Regions from separate parts of the Homo sapiens genome. Here region 2 is linked to region 1. The links are contacts of gene promoters, found by promoter capture Hi-C in blood cells and fetal thymus (Javierre and others, 2016). All regions are on one chromosome and are shown on one strand. The core of a region is centred on a gene start or on the middle of the fragment in contact, and the rest is flanking DNA. Distances in the headings are between cores, read along the strand shown. Region 1 holds the start of PCCA-AS1 (PCCA antisense RNA 1). Region 2 holds the start of LINC00554 (long intergenic non-protein coding RNA 554).

The links. Contacts are between HindIII fragments. The CHiCAGO score rates a contact against its expected background, and 5 or more counts as called.
Region 2: a contact is called between a fragment that was not itself captured here and the fragment with the promoter of PCCA-AS1 in region 1, in 1 of 17 cell types (M0 macrophages). The highest score is 5.9, in M0 macrophages.

What each region holds. Positions count from the first base shown.
Region 1 is chr13:100,478,780-100,484,751 of GRCh38, forward strand. It overlaps PCCA-AS1 (PCCA antisense RNA 1), which reads right to left and starts at 2,236. Exons shown (of 5, transcript NR_047686.1): 1 at 2,201-2,236. The region is part of intron 21 of PCCA (propionyl-CoA carboxylase subunit alpha); the gene reads left to right. It overlaps LOC107984574 (a long non-coding RNA gene), which reads right to left and starts at 2,428. Exons shown (of 3, transcript XR_007063850.1): 1 at 2,341-2,428; 2 at 1,482-1,651; 3 at 768-984. The HindIII fragment of the contact is 6,979 bases long and covers 1-4,539 here.
Region 2 is chr13:99,993,407-99,998,651 of GRCh38, forward strand. LINC00554 (long intergenic non-protein coding RNA 554) reads right to left here and starts at 4,503. Exons shown (of 1, transcript NR_047483.1): 1 at 1,493-4,503. RefSeq lists an enhancer at 4,114-5,059. The HindIII fragment of the contact is 2,005 bases long and covers 1,477-3,481 here.

The DNA of each region.
Region 1 (5,972 bases), core at 986-3,485:
TAGCATGCCTTTCTGGATAAGCCTAGTAGAATTGCTTTTTCTACTATAAAAAGGAAAGAATGGGGCTCCTCATATTATAGTAACAGAATTCTTGGTACTAGAACTGGTAAGCCAAGAGAAATGGAAGCTGACCAACTTTTCTCTCTGCACAGGGTTCAGAGGGATAGAAACACACAATTTGACTCTGCATGCACCAGAACCTTCTCACTCAGGGTAAGGGACAGCCACAGTTTCTGGGACGTTACCTAAAAACACAATAATCCCACTTATTCTCTGACAGATAATCATCAGTCATAGCCCCACTACTCACTTTTATTAAAGAAATAGCTGGGCCCTTTTAGGTAAAGCCCTTTATATACTGGGAAAAAAGGTCATGTTATCCATTCCTCAAATCCCAGGTAAACTCCTGCTGGTTACTCAAAAATAAAAACCAAAATGAAAGCCCATTCATCACAGGGATGCCTAATCTTGTAATGAGGGAATCACTGAGTGTGGCACAGGGAAGACTCCTGAGAGATTCTGATGGGGTACAAGTGTGCTGACCAACGTCCTAGATACAGTGGGCCCTTGAACAATATGGGGGCTAGGGATATCAACCCTGTGCAGTCAGAAATCTACGGATACCTTCTGACTCTCCCAGAATGTAACTGCTAGTAGCCTACTGCTGACCAGAAGTCCTACCAATAACATACAGTCATTTAGCACGTATTTGGTATGTTACATGATTATATACTGTATTCCTGCAATAAAGTAAGCTAGAGAAAGTGTTAGGAAAATCATAACGACAAAATATATTTATTATTCATTAAGTGGAAGTGGATCATCTTAAAGATCTTGATCTTCATTGTCTTCACGTTGAGTTGGCTGAGGAGGAGGGGGCTTGATCTTGCTGTCTCAAGAGCAGCGGAGTCATAAGAAAATGCACATTTAAGTGGCCCCATGCAGTTCAAATCCATGTTGCTCAAGGCTCAACTGTACACCGAACTGAAAAATGATTCCATTTTTAGTAGGAAATGGCCTACTCTAAGTCCTACTGCTTCCCTTTGCACTTGATGGCAAGGGTCTTTAACTGTGTCAGTGGAGCTGGTTTGGCTCCACTGATAGAGACTCCCTGACCATCTGATAGGCCACTTTTGTTAGAGGAGAAGGTACCCCCTTGCCTACCTGTTCTTTTCTTACTTCATGGGTCTTGATTCCTGACTCAGGAGCACCCATTACAGAAAAGCCCTGGGACTAGATCTAATTTTATTTAATGAAAAACCTATGGAGCATTTACTCTTGCTTCTAATAAATTAACAAGTCAGGGCTTTCTTCTGAATAGGAGGGTCTCTTGACTCTTTGATATTTGACTTTTGAACCAGACTAGATGAGGCAGAGCTTCAGCACATATTTTACCAGTGTCTTCAGCAAATGCCTTTCTCTTTGCAAAGCTCCATATTACTACCAAAAATTAACCCAACTAAATTGTAATTTCTACTCACCCACATTTATTGAGTACTGTGTTTCCTTGAAAGATCTCAAACAAGGCACCTTCTTGCAAGATCTTCACCACCAGACCTTCATGATAGTCACCTCCTCATTAGGCTGAGACGCATACACAGTGATTACGTTCAGACACAGGGACTCCTGTGTCTTAAGACCTTGTGTGACCCTTGTAATTAAAGCATTACACTTTGCAAAGGCTGACAGTGGTATAGGGGCTGTCTGAAACTATTCAGCCATAGCCTGGTCTCTGCTTTCTTTTTACAAATGGGAGGTTGGCTAAGGCAGACACAGGGATGGCTAAGAGGGATAAAGGACGTGACTTCCATAGAACCTTTTGTTCCTAGAGGAACCTCTCCATGAAACACACAGTGAAACTAGATTAAACCAAAAAACGCCCTCAGCTCCAGCAGATCCTGAGCTACAAAGCACCTCTTCCCTACCGAGCCTTCTCACCCATGCGCACTGAGTTTCTGAGTATCAGAAAGTCAGGTTTCTGAATCCCTAGAGAAAGTAAAAATTTCCTTGGACACAATGGGTTTTCTTTGCTTCCTGCATGACAGTCACGAAGGGGAATCTGAAATAGAGAACTTGAATATGCGGCTTGCTGAAGGGAAGTGTACTGTACAGTAGCCCCCCTTCTCCACGGGGGATCCATGTCAAAATCCCCAGGGGATGCCTAAGACTGCGGATGGGACCGAACCCTGTATACGCTTGCCTTTAATGCCTTTTCCATTTCAGCTCGGCACTTAGCCCACACTGTGGCTGTAACTTTTGTAGTTTTAGGTACAGCAGCAAAACTAGCACAAATTTCTTTGTCCTTTTTCACAATTTCATGGATAGAAGATTGATTCTTACTGTAGATCTTAGCAATCTCAGCATACTTTTTTTTTTCTTGAGAACTTTCACCTTTTAACTAAAGGAAGGACTTCATGGCTGGTTTTTGGCATATCCAGATTGCCAGCATCATACTCTTGGAACTTTGAGGCCATTGTGAAGTCAAATAATAGTTCCTGCCAGGCACAGTGGCTCACACCTGTAATCCCAGCATTTTGGGAGTCCAAGGCAGGTGGATCACTTGAGCTCGGGAGTTTGAGACTAGCCTGGGCAACATGGCAAAACTCTGCCTCTACAAAAAACACAAAAATTCACCGGTCACGGTGGCACATACCTGTAGTCCCAGCTACTCGGCAGGCTGAGGTGGGAGCATGGCTTAAGCCCAGGAGGTGGAGGTTACAGCGAGCCAAGATCATGCCACTGCACTCCAGCCTGGGCGACAGAGCCAGCCTCTGTCTCAAAAATAAAAAAGGAACCTAAGCACTGAGACCCCCTGACAGTAGATCTGGTAACTGAGATGGCCACTAAGTGACTGGTTGGTGGTGGGGGTGTCTACAGCGTGGAGATGCTGGACCCCGAGAGAGAGGGTTTATGACCCAGGCAGGATGGAGCAGGACAGCACAAGATCTCCTCACACTACTCAGAATGACTCACAATTTAAAACTTATACATTGTTTATTTCTGGAATTTTCCATATAATGTTTCTGGACCATGGTTGACCACAGGTAAATGAAACCTTGGAAAGCTAAAACCTTGGATAAGGGGGGACTACTGTAATATAAAGTTTACAGTTCCTGGGGTGAAAGCTCAGGCAGACCCTATCTATGCATTATTACAACGTACCATCAATTCAAAACCATAAATTTGCAGAAACATCGTTGCTTTAATTCCTAAAATATTGAATATGAATAATAAAAATAATATATGCTTTGTCTTAGAAGCACCTTTTTAATATGATTGATGTGTATTGATCTGTTTCTTCATTCTAACATGAACATTTCTGTAACAGTCATTTCCCCTGAAATATCTAACCTGTGGGTACCTGAGACAGCTTGTCAGTTAGGAAGAACAGTGGTGGCGATAGCCACGTAGGGCTGGTTTGGTCGTGAGTGCAAGTGTGGTTGCAGCAGCTAGAGCAGAGGACTGTGTGGAGAACATGGGTCAGGTCAGAAGGCAGTAGCCAGGAGGGATGCAGAGTCGAGAGAGAATTTGTTGATTGGAATGACTCAGGTTGACTTTCAGGATGAAGAGAAGGGGCCAATAGAGAGGGAAGAGAGGACAGTTGATGAGGCAGGCTCCAAGAGAGGAGGGCAAAGCGAGATCAGGGGCTCCAGTGAAATGCCTGAGTGTGATGAGAAGAGCGCTGTCTTGTGAGGCTAGAGAGGGAACCAAGGATGGGTGGGCCTGGGAAGGCTGGAGAGGTAGCCTGTCAGGGAGCTGCTAACCCACTTAGAAATACTCTTATTGACATAACAAGGTTTTTTGTTTTGGTTTTTTGTTTGTTTGTTTTGAGAGAGCGTTCGCTCGTTCCCCAAGCTGAAATGCAATGGTGCAGTCTCAGCTCACTGAAACCTCCACCTCCTGGGTTCAAGCGATTCTCCTGCCTCAGCCTCCCGAGTTGCTGGGATTACAGGTGCATGCCACGGGTGCAGTGGCTCACGCCTGTAATCCCAGCACTTTGGGAGGTCGGGGCGGGCGGATCATTTGAGGTCAGGAGTTCAAGACCAGCCTGGCTAACATGGATATAACAAAATTTTCTATTTCAAAAGTTCAGTCGTGGGCACAAGTTGATTTTGCCTTACAGTCTTGATAGTGAAGGTGCATACTATTTTTAAAGCTGTATTCCTTAGATACTACCATATTATCTAATGTTTCTAATAATGGAATTAGCAAAAAATGACTACATCATCCAAATTTGACTTTGTACTAACATACTTGGCGTACTCCATATCCCTGAAGGTTAACAAGAGATAAATTTGGCCTAGACTGGTCTTTTCCTGAATTCATCACTTAAAAAAGGAAAAAAAGAATGGGGAGGAAAAGCCACGTTTTACTTTTATAATTTTTATTCCATCATTAAAAGTACAACTTGCTTTATGATCTGAAGAAATACCATCTAAGTCTTTCTATTAGGAACAAAAGTGAGCCTTTCAGGGAAAAAAAAAAAAGGAGCTGGGCTTAATCTGCATTAGCCCTTTGATGTATTCCCAGATTTTAAAAAGCTTCCCACTGTTCTCAGCCACGTTGAAACAGACCCAGCCATGTGTCCGGCGCTGTCCTTTTCTCCTCTCAGCACACACTTAGCCGGAGACACCTTTTGGCCAATGGGCCAGGATTCTTCCATTGCATCTTCAGCATGTGACCGTTTGTGCTGGCTCATTGGGAGTTCTGCTGCTCAGTACTCCTTCCCCAGGCAAAGACTCTTAAGTTAATAATTGGTTCAGAAGAATAAACTATACCGCCCTCTTGGTCTTCTTTTGGACATTTCTTTAAGATGAGGCTCTTACTGGTATATCTGGGGTACTTTATTGAGAAATAGAAAGTGCTAGCTGAAATAAGGCGTATCAGTCTAGAGTTAGGAAGTGAGAAATGCAATCGGTAAATTTTGCTTTTAAATAAAAATGGAAGCCCCATTTTAATTGTTGCCATTTCTAGTCATTTTATCATTTTTAACAGCCTGGTTTTCTATTTTAGAGAAGTTGCTGACCAATATTTAGAGAGCACCTCCCTAATCTGCACATCCTCTTGTGTGTGATGGTGAAGTGATGGGTTGGAATCGTTTTTAATGCTGTTTCCATTGATGGGACATTATTACCAGAAGGAGTGCTTTGTGCCAGCTGGTTTCATGGATGGAGGAAAACAATCTGGGTTTCAGTTTCACAAATAGAAAAACAAAACCTGAGAGGAAAAGGAAGTAATTCGTTAGCAGTGGCCACTGTGCAGAGTAGGATAACCTGCCTTCAAAGATTTTTGTTTCATGCACTATAATATAATGTTTAATAAATACTTTACTTCAAAGAACCTCACTACAAGAAAACTGGCCGCTTTCCTGCTATTCTTGTTCTCCGGCTCAGTATGACTATAAGTAGCTCATATCCGGTCCTCTGTGGTCTCAGGTGGTCGTTTGTGTTTATGATCCTTAAGCTGAAACTGTAAGGACTGTGTCCCTATTTTAAGTCTTTAGCAGATCCACCGTGTTCTGCAGGAATTGACAGAGGCTCTCGTGAAACCCTTGACACTTTGACCCATCTTGAGGAAAATGCTTAGATGCTAAAAGCAGTGTGCATAGGGATTACGTCCTCCAAAAATAGAAAACTCTAAATTTACTAAGCAGGGAGTAGAGAAACTCATCAGACTGCACCTCAAGTTTTTGATGTGTTCTGGTCGCCTCTGCACTCCCATTCTAGACTTCTAAACAACACGTTCAGGATCTCTGAGATAAAAGCTGGACTGAAGTTACAGAAAGAGCATTAGAGATGTTTGAATTTTTCTTTTTTCCCCCCTGTAGATATATTTGGCATATGTAGAATTTGAGAGTCCACTATTGATACCAGTTTCTTCCAGATATTAACACATATCAAATAGACAGCTAGAACTCAGAAGAAACTAATGGAGCTCTGAAAGAAACCATTGTTTTTTCCACTATAAATCTT
Region 2 (5,245 bases), core at 1,229-3,728, 490 kb before region 1:
GGAGAACACACAGACACATAGAGACATAGTGTTCATTTTAGTGTTGAAACACACCAGAAAACTTCCCACTTCCATTCATATTTGGATTCCTGTTTGGATGTCTAGTTTTTACTATAAAAAATATCACAAACCAAACAACAACAACAATGTATCATTAAAAAGATGCTGACAGTTATGTATTTTATTCACCAACCTACACACTCCTCATTCCTACTTCATTTTTCCCCTCCTAGTGTTTTTCTTGTAATTATATCTTTCAGATTGTAACTTTCAGGGGAGAAGTATATTTTGAAATATTTTCTAAATAGAAAACAAAAGGTCTCAGTAACTCAGAAATAAGTTAACAATTCCTAAGCATCTCTGTGGGTCTTTGGCATGTGTGTGTGTTTTCTTTTTCCTTTCAAATTAAGATGAAAAAATTATAAGGGAGAATCACTCCATCTCAGCACCTAAATCCTGTAAAGTGGACTTTAACTGCAGATTTTGGTGGACAAGCTGCCCTTCTGCAGCACACTCTCTAACTGCATATTTCAGCTTCTCGATGCTCCCACTTGAAAGAGACATAGACCTCAGCCACCTCCTCTCTGAGGCAATTTACTCAGCTTCTCCAATCACACAGTTCTTTAACGGGGCAGAAATTGTTGGGTTGTTTTTAATCAAGTTTGGAAGCTGAATCTCTTTCCCCTGATGACTGTGCCCAGGGGTGGATCCGGCTGAATGTCTGGCGCTGCGGGCAGCGGGCTTGGCCACCCGTTTTTCAGACACAACACCAGAGAATGGCACTGAAATAATCGCGTGTAGCAGAAATGTTTAAAAACATTAACCTCTCTTATTTTCTATACTTGTGAATTAAAAGGCAAAAGAAGCTGAAAGGAAATCTGAAATGATACTCATTTACCTACTGAAGGCAGACCAAGAAACTGTAAAGATGCTTGATGCTTTGAAAATGTACTCTGTAAAATCTTTCAAATTAGATGCTGCTTAAGATCAATGGCAGTAAAAATATTTTTATGGTTTGATTGGTTAAAACATTTTTAGATATTAGTGATGATAAATTAACAGATCAGAAGTTTCTTTCTAGGAACAATTTGGGAGGGATATAGAAAGTAATCTAGTAATCTAATAATACTCTTCCTATTGTTTAAAGGGAGACAAATTATAGTACATACTATGTGGACTTTTTTAAACTTTAGATCAATAAAAATATTTGGCTTTCATATACTATTGAAAATTCTTTGCGAAAGTGGAGAATCAAGGATTTTAAAGACCAAGAACAAAACAAAGAATCAGATTACAGTCTTCCTCTAAAATACACTTCTTCCTTTGCTGGGTTTTCAAATGATATCATTGGTGATTCTTTGTTTATTTGAACAATCTCTTGAAATTAAAATGGATTGAATATTTCCCTCTAGGTAGTTCAACTTCAGACACACAAATATTTCTAAAAGTTCTAAATGTAAATCAAAGACTTTATAAAGCTTCAGCAACAACATTTCATATCATGGCAAAACCAATTTTATTGTGACATTCCTCTCATATCTGGCAGATTATCAGACACATCAAAAATTCTCACCTTGAAAATGCACTCTTCCAAAAATCATATACATTGGAGAAACTAATTTTTATAATGTGTAATTTGTGGTTTATTATCTCATTTCTGTTTTTAAATCCAAGTGAATTAATTTAAAAAGTAAATTTGGATTAGAGGGGAGACATTAGTGAAAAGTCTTATGTATTAATCAAATTCTTCTCAACTACCTCCAGTATGCACACACATCATTCACACACACCCTTCTTGAGAAGAAAAAAAATGTTCCAGCTGAAGAGAACAGTCATATCAGCCATTTGGCTTCAAATGCCTTATACAAAAGTTTAAAATAGCTATTTTGTAATATGGCAAAACTATCGTTTAATGTTTCAGGGTAACATTTTTCTAAATCTTCATGTGATAATTTACTTATTCAAAAATGTAACAAATGATTGACTTTATTGGGCAAAATATTGCTCTACATATTTGTTAAAGTAGATATCTCACATAGGGTGCCATTGTAACTTATGTAAGTCTCTTTTCCGTACAATTGTGTTCACTTGTAGGTAATCTACTATTCTCTTGTGCCTCCAACATTGTTGCACTTGAAAGTTGAATGTTGAGGACTCAAGGTTGGAAACCAAATCGAGTGCCTTGTGTGGAAGCAAAAGATGTTTTCCTCTGACAGATGCTACTTTGGGTGTCTTTTCTGCTAAGCAGATCTCCGCGTTAAATTAGCCTAATCATTTGCCTCTCTGTTTTTTCTAAAGGTCTGTGGTCCAAGTAGCAGTCATTCCTGCAATAGACGATAGGTTCTGTTCGGTAGCGGGAATGTCCTGTTTCTTTGCTTTAAGTTTCACTTTGTGATTAAAATGCAATAAAATAAGTCTGGAAAATCATTTTTAAGAGAACACTTTCAAGAAGCACTTCCTTTCCTAGTGCCAGACAACGGTGCTCCCCAACCACTTGGCTGGAACGCTTGCTTTCGATTTGTTTGTTTCGCGCATTTCCCTAAAGAGCCGGGCTCTTTGCGCTGTTTTAATTCTGCTTTAAAAATGCATCGCTTCTGCCCTGAATCCTTCTCTGAAACAAATTCCTATCGAAAGTGTATCAGATTCGTTCCAAATATGGGATATGGATCAATATTCCCATGCTACAAATATTTTTTAAATTGTTTTTGTCGTAGGAGTCCACACTTTTGCAATATATTTTTAATTGAAGTAGGGTTGCCTGTTATTTCTCATGATACACAAAAAAGTAGCAATTACCGTCTGCTTAGTCCTTCCTTTATTATTATTTTTAGCCCGTGTATCATTACCTAACTGGTATGCGTTCTTCTGCCCAGCTCCTGATGATCTAGTTGAATTCTAGACATTGTGCCAAGAAGTGTATTTGAAGCAGATAAGTACGTATAATACAAATGCGTCTTGTTAGACCTGATGGATGCTATTTTTCTTTTAATAGGTTTGTAGCAAACTAACACAATAACACAATGTATTCCTTTTCAAGATACATTGTTGAAACAGGTCTATTAAGAGCGCGTTGAGCTATTTCTCGCTTCCATTGAACAGTCTGTTGCTCAAACACAACAGCCAACAAACGCCAGCTGCCTCAACAAAAGTAGAAACCTAACCCTTTTATGTAATGTTTTAACAGAAAGGGTAGCTCTGTTTAATTAAAAACATTGATGATTCAGTGAAACAATAGAAACTCAAGTTCAAGTGGTGCTCTATTGATTTAAGATGATTTTTTACTAGCAATGGGTATAATTCATTTTTTTTCCAGTTCTCTCTTGTGTAAAGGGGTTCCTTCTGGGGGCATTATTTGGGTGAATAGGAAAAGACAGAGATGGCTATTGCCTTAGAAACCTGATTAACGTATATTGCTTTGAGGGTAAGGTGTTTAATTTATAAGTGCACCCCATATTTTTTGTCAGTTTATTCGCGGTGGGGAAGCTTTGAAAGTAGCTCCTCTCAGCAGGTTAAAAAGTGAAGTCTGCGTCCTGGCATTTAAATGTCTTTGTTATTGTGTCAGGCAAGTTGTTGAAAACTGCATGCCCGGAATATTAAGGTTGGGCGGCTAGAGGAGGCAAGTTGTGTGTGTGTGTGTGTGTGTGTGTGTGTGTGTGTGTGTGCGCGCGCGCGCCCCTGGGCGCAGGGCTGTGTGTGCGAGGACAATTATTTTCATCAGCTGCTTGCTAGCCCGCGCCCGACTGCTCCTCTTTGCAGAACCGACGGGCTTTCAACTCTGGAAGTGAAGCAGGACGAATTCCTCCATGGAGACTCCCTCCTTGGGAACGTCGAACTCTCTCTGCCTTGGGGAGTGGGGCTCGATAAAGGGTACCTAGGTCGCACCCTGGCAGGGGAGCACTAGAGGGCCGCGAGGTCCCGGGTTTCGCCATCCTGAGACCCCCGCGCGGATGGCCCAGGAGGGGCGCGGCGGCCCTGAGTCAAGGTGGGCGGGGGCAGGTGCTTCCCTCCACCGCGTTGTCCTATGCCGGCGCGGTCCCCACCGCCCGACCTAGCCCGGCGCCGGCCGAGCACGGCGGCCGCGCTTCGCACTCCTTCCTCCCACCGGGTCCGCAGGCCCGGCTTCACGATTCCCGGGCCCTCGGGCATGTGAGGGACTTGAGTGAATGCAGCTCCCTCAACTCACTCCCGCAAAACCACAGCCAAGAGGGCCTTAAGTCAGAGAACCCGGCCTAGGAGCCTCCCCTAGAGCCTCGGCGCGGGCCCCTTCCCCTTCCCCACATCGGTCGGCCGAGGGAGCCTAGAGCCGGTGGGAGACGGGCAGCGGCCTCTCCTGATCCTTTCCTGCGGTCATACAAGTTCCTAGGGTGGGCCGAGGACAGAGCGCCTCAGGCATCGTCGGCTTCCCACGGCTGCGGCCCAGGCCCAGCCTGCGGCCTTGGAGCCATTCGCTCCAAGCCCCGACAGGCCGCGACCGCCTCGAGGGCCGCACTTCCGCCTGCTACCGACTTTCCGCGCACCCAGGGGTCAAAAGGCACGGCCCGCCTCTACCCACTTCCGGGGTCCGGCCTCCCCAGGTCCGGCTGGCCCCCACCCAGCCCAGGGCCCCTGTGGGTCCCGGAAGCCGGAGGACCGCTGAGACCGAGGCCTGGAGCCCGTCGCCCTCCGGGCCCACCTTGGCGGATGACAGTCGGGGAGGCCGAGGCCAGAAAGGGACCCGCGGGGGAAACGTCCACAGGGGCCCCTTAGGCCTACAGTGAATTATTTAAGCTGTTCCTGGTGTTTAAAGAGGTTTTTCAGTTTTTAAAGAATGTTGTAAAAAAATATCAGTCCTTGTTAACTCCCTCATTACATGCTTTTTTTCCCTCAGCTGAACAAGCTCTATTTCCTGAGTCGCAGGAGTAATGTAAGTGTTTAAACGTGTGTCAAGTGTCTTATAAATAATACAAATTCATACAGAAGAGGAGGAGATTTAACTGATACCTGAAGGACTTGGCATAGCCACATTTGCTGTGCGGTTGTTTTTGGACAGGGACGTGTGGTCGGGAAACCGCCCTGACAGCGCCTGGTGGGGCTCTGTCCTCAGCTCAGCCCTGTGAGTCTGTCCCCACCCCTGTCTAGGAAAGCCCAGGAGGAGTTTGACCAGTTCGTGAGAGACGGTCCAGTGGTCTGCAGTTTCTATACTAGAGCGTCTATACTCAACTCAGTATTTTGGAGTTCCTTTTCTTATTTTTTATTTTTATTTTTT